2 separate regions of the Homo sapiens genome follow, and region 1 is linked to region 2. The links are contacts of gene promoters, found by promoter capture Hi-C in human tissues and cell types (Jung and others, 2019). All regions are on one chromosome and are shown on one strand. Each heading gives the region's core, a stretch centred on a gene start or on the middle of the fragment in contact. The rest is flanking DNA. Distances are from core to core; before and after follow the strand shown. Region 1 overlaps KCNT2 (potassium sodium-activated channel subfamily T member 2). Region 2 holds the start of KCNT2 (potassium sodium-activated channel subfamily T member 2).

Region 1 (4,717 bases), core at 1,797-4,296, 120 kb after region 2:
GCTATTATGGTATTTGAATAAATGTAACAAAATTACTTTAAATTTTAACTTTTGTATAAGCCTTTGACAAAAATGACATCTTAAAAAGTGATGAGAGCAGATTTGCCATAAATCAAAACTCTGTGGTTCTGGGGAAGGTCCAGAAAGAGTACACTAACTTAGTGTAAGAGTACACGAAAGATTACACTAACATAGTCTACTAGATGTAAGTAAATTCAGATAAAGTTAGATGGAGGTAGGGAGGTCAGAAGAAAAGAAGGAAGAGAGGGAGGCAAGATTAAAGGAAGGAAAGGAGGGAGGAAGGAATGGAGGGAGGAGATGAAACCAGTTTAAACTTGAAAAAGGAAGCGGTGAGATTATATTTAAAATAAGTTAAATCATGAAAAACTTTGGGAAGGGTAACCACTAAACTCTGAACTAAATACCTGGGTGCTAAAAAACTGGTGCTGAGGAAGGTCTCAAAAGTACACGCTGTCACTAACATGCCTTGCTGCTAGAAAGAGTTATCATTAAATCAAATTAAAAAAAAAAAAGCTCTACTTTATACTGTAACCAGTAAGCCTAAAGGACATTTTCTGTGCCCAGTATAAGTCATGTATCAAAAAACATTTTGCTTGCATTTTGGCTTTAAATAAAAGTTGTATAATTTCATGTTTTAATATAATCCATGTTTCTCAATGATTATATTGACTCAGAGAGATCGCCAGATTCATTAAGAGTTTTACTTCACATAATTTGATAATTAGATTGGGATTAGGAAATTATTTAATGAGAGACTTCACACCATGCAAAATTGCCTTTGCTCTCAGGAAAAAAAAAAAAGCCAGTGGCTCGCATGCTGTTGTCCAGCCTTTGGCACATTTATAGGTATTGGAGAGCTCTCCACATTGATGGCCATTTCAAAGTTGGATAATTCTCATTCGTAATTCGTGCATTTATCTAATATTCTATTTAATAGAGAATCACATTATGTGTCATTCCATTTTAATAATGTTGGTAACTGAAATATTTAAAGACAACGGTGACTCCTAACTCTTCATAATTACGAATTCTTTCTAGTTTCGCCTACCTTTTCCATATGTGGTATGTTTTCCAGATTCCTCATTATTTTTGTTAAGGCTTTAGATGATCTCATTTCAGTTAAAAAATGCTCCTCTGCGCCTGTAATCCCGGCACTTTGGGAGGCTGAGGTGGGCGGATCACGAGGTCAGGAAATTGAGACCATCCTGACTAACACGGCATGGTGGCTGGCGCCTGTAGTCCCGGCTACTGGAGAGGCTGAGGAGAAGAATGGCGTGAACCCGGGAGGTGGAGCTTGCAGTGAGCTGAGATCGCGCCACTGCACTCCAGCCTGGGCGACAGAGCCAGACTCCGTCACCAAAAAACAACAAAAAAAGGCTCCTCTGTTACATACCCAGTACTGAACTCCAATATTATCTGAAAAATGGACTCATTCTTATAAATTTGGTAATTCTAGGAAGCAAATCTGCATGGCCTTTGCTGAATTATTTGTGTAATAGCCGTATTGTCCTCTCAAATTTGTTTATGTAGCCATAACAAATTTCAACTAGTTTAGCTTTATCTCACTATTTACAGTTACTATATTTAAAATGAACTGACTTTTCATTTGATAAACAAGGGAAACACGTCCAATAATGCATTTCCAAGACACCGATGAAGTTTTGTTTCTGTATGTGTGTGCATGGACTTTTGTAGTATGTATATGTACGTAGATGTGTAGGGTGTGCACATGTGCATGGGCATACAGATGGAAATGTTCTGCTAAAAGATATCATTGCCATTTTAGTGGCTTCTTTAGAACTTCTAGAGAACTTTTCCAACTTCTAGTCTGGAGAAGGTATTAACTAAAGAGAATCTTGCTTACTTTAAAACAATTTCATTTAATATATAAGGTGAAGAAAAAACAAAGTAAGTCAGAATATGATAACGAGGAAATAAAAATAGAAATATATTCTTTAGAGAGAAGATATAAAAGAACATTCAAGTATTTTAGAAGATACAACACATACAGCTTGATTCGTAATTAATTTTAAAAATGCCCTGTTGAGGGTAACATCACACAATGGGGCCTGGGGAAGGGATAGCATTAGGAGAAATACCTAATGTAGATGACAGATTGATGGATGCAGCAAACCATACACATGGCATGTGTATACCCATGTAACAAACCTGCACGTTCTGCACATGTATCTCAGAACTTAAAGTATAATAAAATTAAAAAAAATGCCCTGTTGCTTTTGTGACACAATAAACTGCTTTAAAACTATTCATGGTTTTCCTTGAATAAACAGGGTAGTAGAGGGTTTATGAGATAATATAGTAGTGAACTATTTCTCAAATGCATGAGCAGCTTTGTAATGTCAGTTGTTTTTTTTTTCTCCTAGTTTTCTCTAAGGTATCTACTCTTGCAAAAAAAACAAAACCAAAAATCTCCCCCCCAAAAAAAAGACCCCCAAACCTTATCTGGCTTACATGAATTACATTTTCAAAATGTTACCATATTAGGAAAAATGAAATTAAATATTTGTTTTTGCGTAAACATTAAAATCCATTCTTAGCTGTTTTTGAAATTCTAACTCATAATGAATATATTTGAGACTGATTAAGGAAATTGAGTATTATTTACAAGTTACCTTGCACTGAACAAGATTTCTCTTTTCACTTAGTATTTTGAAAATATTAATTGTGCCTTATCAAAGGGAGACTGTTTGCTAGAATTTAGAGTATTTATTAAAGTACTGCTATTATTTTAGACTGTTGATATTATTGTATAGTGGATCAAATATACAATATGTAGTCTATTAATTGAGTTGTTTGCTTTATAATCTATCTGTGGTAACCTTAACAGTTCTATTTGCCACTGCTACTTCTTGGTTGATCCATAAGTAGGAAGGTAAAGTGTTACAGAGTGTGGTGTCCTAAATAGGCTATAGGTGTAGTGAAGAATTGATTATTAGGCCCTGCCCTTTAAAATTCTGAATAAGTAGATCTGGCACGGTGGTGCCCAGACTGAATTTTTCAAACGTCAGTTAATTCTTACAGCAGGGAAAAAAATGGGGAAAGCACTGATTCAAACCCATTTCAAACACACATATTAAAGACTTTTGCATTATTGCTGTTTTGAATAATCCATGCCACTCATTATATTCATTAATACAAATAATTGAATTGACTATGTATAATATTTAAAATGATTCTATCTTTAAAAGTAGAAAATAATTGCTTCTCTCTAAATCAGTACTTTACTCAGTTCTCATTTTCCATGGCAGGGAATTTACTAAAATACATAATGCATTAAATCAAATAATTTATTTCAAAAATGTATTATTCTTTAAGTTAGAGAACTACAGATCAATTTATATTTGTTGATCTTCATGAAAATAAAGATATGGTTGCTTGCATACATTTACATGTTTTTATTTTCTGTTTGCAGGGTACAAGTTGAATTCTATATGAATGAAAATACATTTAAAGAAAGACTAAAATTATTTTTCATAAAAAACCAGAGATCAAGTAAGTTATTCATTTCATTCCCCTCTGTTCGTACATATATTTACTTCAAAATATTTCAACTGTGTGATCTTTTGCAAAATACTTTTTAGATAGAGGAATAAAATTGGTTATTTTTTCCAGCAGGTGGTAGAGGAATAAAATTGGTTATTTTTTCCAGCAGGTGGTAACATTTTAGAAAAGTATAGGCACTACATATAGTGATATTAATGCTTCTTGAACATCTTCAATTCTCCAAATTCCATGTTAATAAGTAGACTTCTGAGTGGACTATCTGGATTAGTATAAACATTGAGGAAAATAATTTAAATGAGGGTCCTTCCATTTTAACTCTAAATATCGTATTTTCAAAAAGCTCTGACAGACCACAATGGGAAACAATTGTCTGATTTAGGGAAGGGAACGTTTAATATTTCCTAATCATTCCAAATAATAAGAAACATCTAGGTTGCACTGAAATATACAGATTCCTATCTTTCTTAGCCTAGAGATTTTGAGCCAGGAAGTGTAGGGTAGATCTCAGAGTTTAACATCCCAGTGATTCCTATCATCAGACAAATGTAAGAAAGTAACAAAGTAGAACTTCAAGAATACAAAATTGGCATAGTAACTGTCCTCCTGAGCCTATTCAAGGTTAGGAGTGCCGCTGATGCTTGTTGCTTCCCACAATGCCATATATGTTTAAAAAGCCATATGTAATAAACCAATATGCAATTTTTTTTATGGTCATTGCTTACAATGTCACAGGGAATGGAGAGGCCTGCATTAGTTGGTGTAGACATTAAGCTCTGTGAATTTTAACCTCCAAATCCTCTTGTCAAAATTAAGTTGTGCCTCTGTAGGTAGGATTCAAAGAGAGAAGCTTGACTTGTGGGAAGTTGTCCAAATACTGATGATATGGAATATTTCAATATTTAAGTCATACTGCTCAGATAGTCTTAATGACAGGCTGGCCTCAAGGTTAAGACTGTTAGCAACTAATGTTTTTCTAACATGGTTGTTCAGAATATCCAAGGAAGCCCCATAAATAGATATTACCTAAAGGGGTCACATCATCTGAATAGTTTCCCTTATTTCAGTACTAACAGTCCTATCTTTCCAGGCCAAAAAAGGTGGATGCATTGTTTGAATACTTCACCCATAGTCAGCTGCAACTAAGCAGTTATTTGAGGAGGCCCATTTCTAT
Region 2 (5,251 bases), core at 2,076-4,575:
GTTCCACAAATCTCTAGGGCGGGGCAAAATGCCGCCAGTCTTTTTGCTAAAACATAACAAGAGTCACCTTTACTCCAGTTCCCAACAAGTTCCTCATCTCCATCTGAGACCACCTCAGCTTGGACTTGATTGTTCATGTCATTATCAGCAATTCTGTCAAAGCCATTTAACAAGTCTCTAGGAGATTCCAAACTTTTCCACATTTTCCTCTCTTTTTCTGAGCTCTCCAAAGTGTTCCAATCTCTGACTGATACCCAGTTCCAAAGTCGCTTCCATATTTTTGGGTATCTTTTCAGCAATGCCCACTCTACTGGTACCAATTTACTGTATTTGTCTATTTTCACGCTGCTGATAAAGACATGCCCGAGACTGGGAAGAAAAAGAGGTTTAACTGGACTTACAGTTGTTCCACATGGCTGAGGAGGCCTCAGAATCATGATGAGAGGCTAAAGGTCCTTCTTACATGGCGGTGGCAAGAGAAAATGAGGAGCATGCAAAAGCGGCAACCCTTGATAAAACTATCAGATCCCACGAGACTTATTCACTATCATGAGAACAGTACGGCGTATATTACTGCCTTGATTCAAATTGTCTCCCACCGGGTCCCTCCTGCAACCCATGGGAATTATAGGAGTACAATTCAAGATGAGATTTGGGTGGGAACACAGAGCCAAACCATATCAATAGCATTTCCTATAATACATTATTCTTCTAATTTTCTTAAGTTTATAGTAAAAAAAATTCACTTGGACAATTTCAAGACACACCAGAGAATCAAAATATCATCAATGTGGTAGTTTCCAATTGGTTGCCCTGAGCACATTACTTTGTATAGTTTGTATCCATAATGGCACACAGTATTAGCTGAGTAGGTTTTTTCTTATTTATTTATTTTTAATGTACTATTTGTTCTCTCCTAAACTTTTATCTGAGTATTTGGAAGCCAAATGACTAAGATTTTCACAAAAGGTAAAATAGAGGCACATAGCTTTCTTTTAAGTAAAATGTTACTTTACCCTCTAACCTCCAGCATCCCAGGACTAACAATCGATTGCTATTTTTTTTCTTTTTTCAGTGTCTTGATTTTTAGTCTGTTAATGATATGTAAATATTTCAGATTTTCTGTCATCCAAATAATACAGTTAGACTGTAACTATAAATATTAACTTGGAACATTACAAATAAAATTAATAGAATCATTTTAATAGGAGATGATAAGGTCTAAAATATAAACCAGATCTCTCTCTCTATCTCTATCTGTATAAACTAATAATGTAGCAATATTACTTTCTTATTTAGCAAAGTAATTACAAAAGTTCGTGCTAAATTATGATTTCATAAACAAACACATACCACAGGAGTGCAAGCATGGATGGAAAAAAACATGCTTAATTTCCTAGATTTAATAGCTTTTAATGCAACTCCACACCTATTTGTTGAAATGTGGCTATTTTGAAGGTCCCGTGCTAGAGGCAGCTAAGCCACAGGGAGAGGGGAAGAGTTGAAAGAAAAACGCACAGATAATCGTATAGCGGGTCAGGTTATAGTAAGCATTCCAGGCAAAATACTCACATGGGTTATGAAGGGTTCAAACAAAGGGGTTCAAAGGAAGAAGACATCATAAGAAGCTGGAAAAACCAAGAAATCTAATGGAGGATATGTAATTTGAGATGGGTCTGGAAGGATGAGTAGGATTTTGAAGACAGAGACAAACAGTATGACTTTTATTTCAACTGCTATTCTTCAGGTTTCAGTAGTCATTGTATTTCATTTGATGTTACAAGTTTTGGTAATTTCTTCCTTCATTTCTAGCTTCTTAAATAAACCCTCTGCTACATGACCTCTACTGAGCATTAATCATGCCAAATTAATCACTATTTTCTGGATAAGCCAAATATTCTAAAAAATCCCTATGCCTCTACTCATACTATTCTCTCTGCTTGCTTCACCTTTGCTCTTTTCCCTAAAGTAGGCTGCGAACGAATATAGAAGGCTTGGTTCATTTTCAATGTCTTCCTTGACCCCCACCTCGAAGAAGTATGTGTACCTCACAGGTATTTCCAAATCCCTCTGTATGTTCTTTGATTATTGTCTCTCACATCGTATCCATTTATCAAGGAACAAGCTTGTTCCTCCACACAGAGCGGTTCTTAAGTAAGGGCAGGAGAAGCCATATGGTTATCCTCCGGCCCAGGCTGTCAGGTGGTTGGTATTCGGTCTGTATATACTCTGATGCAATCAGTTTTTGAAGGAAAGAACGGTAAGCGCAAATAGAACCATAGCTTGTGTAGCAGGGTTCATGTAAGCAGTGGTTCTTACTGAAAAACAGACCCTGTTCTCTCGGGCTCACTTCTTCCTCCGTGTGAACCACTAATAGGAGGGGACCGAAGGCTGAGGCCAGGCCACCTGGAAGCCCACAACGCTGCTAGTAGCAGCGACAGCAGTAACAGCAACTCACCACTGTAAAATCCTCAGTGCGTTTCCATGTGCTTTCCCTGTCATCTAAATGCTTCTCTTCAGCGGCCTAAGGTGGCCCTTCTTTTTCCCCGAGTTCAGGGAAACACCTCCCTTCTTTCAGAATGTGAGAAAAAAATGGGATTTTCCTGGGGCTGAGAGTGGGGATTCCCTTTCCAGAAACGTGCAATTTTTTCATCCCGCCCACCTGGACTGAAGGCAATCAAAGCGAGGGAGCTCGTGGCATAGTGGAACACTCCAAGCACCCTGGCCCCCCTCCTCCCAGAGAAGGGTCTGGAGCCCCGCAATCCGCTAATTAGCTCGCCCCCATTGGTTGTCCCCAAGGCACCCCCGTGCCGTCACTGTGCTATGCTAATGAGGGGGAGTCTCATTGGCTGGGCCTCCAGCTCCATCTCCACAGGGAGATTGCGGGGAGAGCCGGGTTGGCCGCGTCTGGGGCCGAAACCCACCGCCCCCGATTCCCGCCAGCTCAGGGCTGTGCCGGATGCAAGCCCGCCCGAGGGAACAGTAGCCGGGAGGCTGCCCTCTGGGAGGATCTGGCAACTGCCTTTAAGGAAAGTGCTTCACCATCAAGCGGCGCTCACTCCCACCCCTCTCCCCTCTTTCTAGGCACCGCGCGTCTTTTTCGGCGAAGTAACTTTTTATACCCGCCTCCCCCTAGTCCTGGGGACCAGAGGCGGTGCCGAGCCTGGGGGCGGTTCCTTGGCAGCGTTGATTCTTGTCAGAGCCAGACTTTTGCTCCTGGGTTGGGTTTGCATCATCCCCATTACACCCTCGGGAAAGAGGAGCCAGCCCCCTTTCAAGCCTTAGCTTCCGGCTCCAAGCGGACCCCCTCCCCCTCCCTGTCCCCTTCCCCTTCTCCCATCCCTCTCTCGGCCACAGCGTCTTGTTAGTCCTCTCCCTGTACTCCGCAATATTTTCTTTCTTTCTCCCTCCTCTCCTCCATTTGTTGTTTGATGTTTCCCACTCTTTGAGGAAGGATGGTTGATTTGGAGAGCGAAGTGCCCCCTCTGCCTCCCAGGTACAGGTTTCGAGATTTGCTGCTAGGGGACCAAGGATGGCAAAACGACGACAGGTGAGTGGTGTGGTGGAGGATTGTTCTGTAAATATTGCTGAAAAAGAGACGGAAATGGGAGGGCCGAAGTGGGGAAAGGAGGGAGAAAAGGAAAACGGAGCCAGAGAGGGAGACTAGGCTGGGGGAGGGAGTAAAAGAGACTCTGATTTGTCTCTCCATTTTGACTCTATATAACTGTTGCTATAGATAAGGAACTCTTTTTCTTTACACTTTTCTTATTCTTGCAAGGTATTTATTGCATTCATTTGGTGCTTATTCTTTTGTCTATCTGTGCTTTTCTAGGATGTGTATAAGGCTGGTATCAGAGGTACAATACACCCAAATGGTATGCAATATCATTTCCAGAAAATTTGCATTTTTTCCTTAGGTGTGGTTAATCAAACTCAAAATTGCATGCAAGTTGTTTGAAAAAGCACATTAGAAACTTAAAATCTCCTGAGTCTATTTACCTCCTCCTTGTCTGTGTTGTCTTGAGTAGGTATCTACTTGGCACTGGAAATTTTATGCTGTTTAAACATTTTGGAGTTTTAAGTAGACAATTGGTTTAAATATGTAACAGGTAGTTAGTGAAAATGACAACCTTTTTAATACAATATACTCACTTTGAACAGGTGACTCTGACCATTATGAATAATGATGTTTGTATAACATGATACAACCTTTTCATAACTAGTATATTTTTTTAACTGAAACAGAATATATGTCTCAAAATTAAAATTAAGTTTCAAAACTAGAATATTTATTGTTAGCAAAATATTGTTCATGTGTTTTATTTATAGCATTACTGCTTTGCACAAACTTCTGAAATTCCTCTGTCTATTTCTGTCTCAAGCACATTTTGTATTTCAGCGAATTTAGTATTTTCTGGAATAGTCATCCCATATATCACATGCCACATTTCTTTGTTTTAAAATAATACATGTATACTAACTAGGTTCTCAACTCAATTGAAATGTTTCATTGAAGTTTAGTTTAGTATTGATGTGCTATTTTAGTTATATAAAAGATCCATTATTGGTCCAATCCAAAATCCCCTCCTCATTCACCACTGACCAATACACTCTATTTCTTTTCTTCACCTTTTCAGCTCCCAATACCAACTCCTGTCTCTACACACTGAGGATTTTATCTTGAGCATCAATTATGGGCATCTTGTTTGGTCTCATATTAGTAATTTGAAAGGAGATGGATGTTTTGTAGAGGATATTTTGGTTCAATCTCTTTTTTAGGCAAAACCACACATATTGGCTAAAAATTTAAAGAAGTAATACCAATTTCTCAGTATTCTTGTAAAGTGTTTGGGTAAACTGAAGATAAAGAAAATAATTTTTAAGTGAATTTGTAATACAAATTGACATTTAGATAAACTGCATTAGCCTGGTTAAATGGCTTAGTAAGTGTAGCATGGTGTTCCTAGTGACTGAATGTATATTTAGTTCAGGACCTCAGGATCATTATATAGAATAGAAATCCTCTTTGTAGAAAGTGTGAGATAGATTAAACACATAAAGCACATACTTTGGTTATAGTGATGGTATTGTTGTTTGTTTGTTTTAAATATCATATCCAATATGTTAATTTTCATGTGGTTGCCCTCATTTTTCTAAGGATGCTGCAGAAATATTTTAGTAATTAAGAATTTTGGTTAGTTGAACACTGCCTAAATGGATCAGTGCCATATTAAAAAAGTTTTGCAGAATG

Evidence for each region. Contacts are between HindIII fragments. The study calls those that stand out against the background at their distance.
Region 1: a contact is called between a fragment that was not itself captured here and the fragment with the promoter of KCNT2 in region 2, in 2 of the 25 tissues and cell types used here (neural progenitor cells and stomach).

The regions. Positions count from the first base shown.
Region 1 is chr1:196,491,079-196,495,795 of GRCh38, reverse strand. KCNT2 (potassium sodium-activated channel subfamily T member 2) reads left to right here. Exons shown (of 28, transcript NM_198503.5): 2 at 3,455-3,534. Among named protein-coding and RNA genes, the nearest start is that of MIR4735, 89 kb to the left of the region's middle. The HindIII fragment of the contact is 9,283 bases long and covers 1-4,717 here.
Region 2 is chr1:196,606,514-196,611,764 of GRCh38, reverse strand. It overlaps KCNT2 (potassium sodium-activated channel subfamily T member 2), which reads left to right and starts at 3,325. Exons shown (of 28, transcript NM_198503.5): 1 at 3,325-3,550. The coding sequence starts at 3,456. RefSeq lists an enhancer at 2,474-2,990. The HindIII fragment of the contact is 13,382 bases long and covers 1-5,251 here.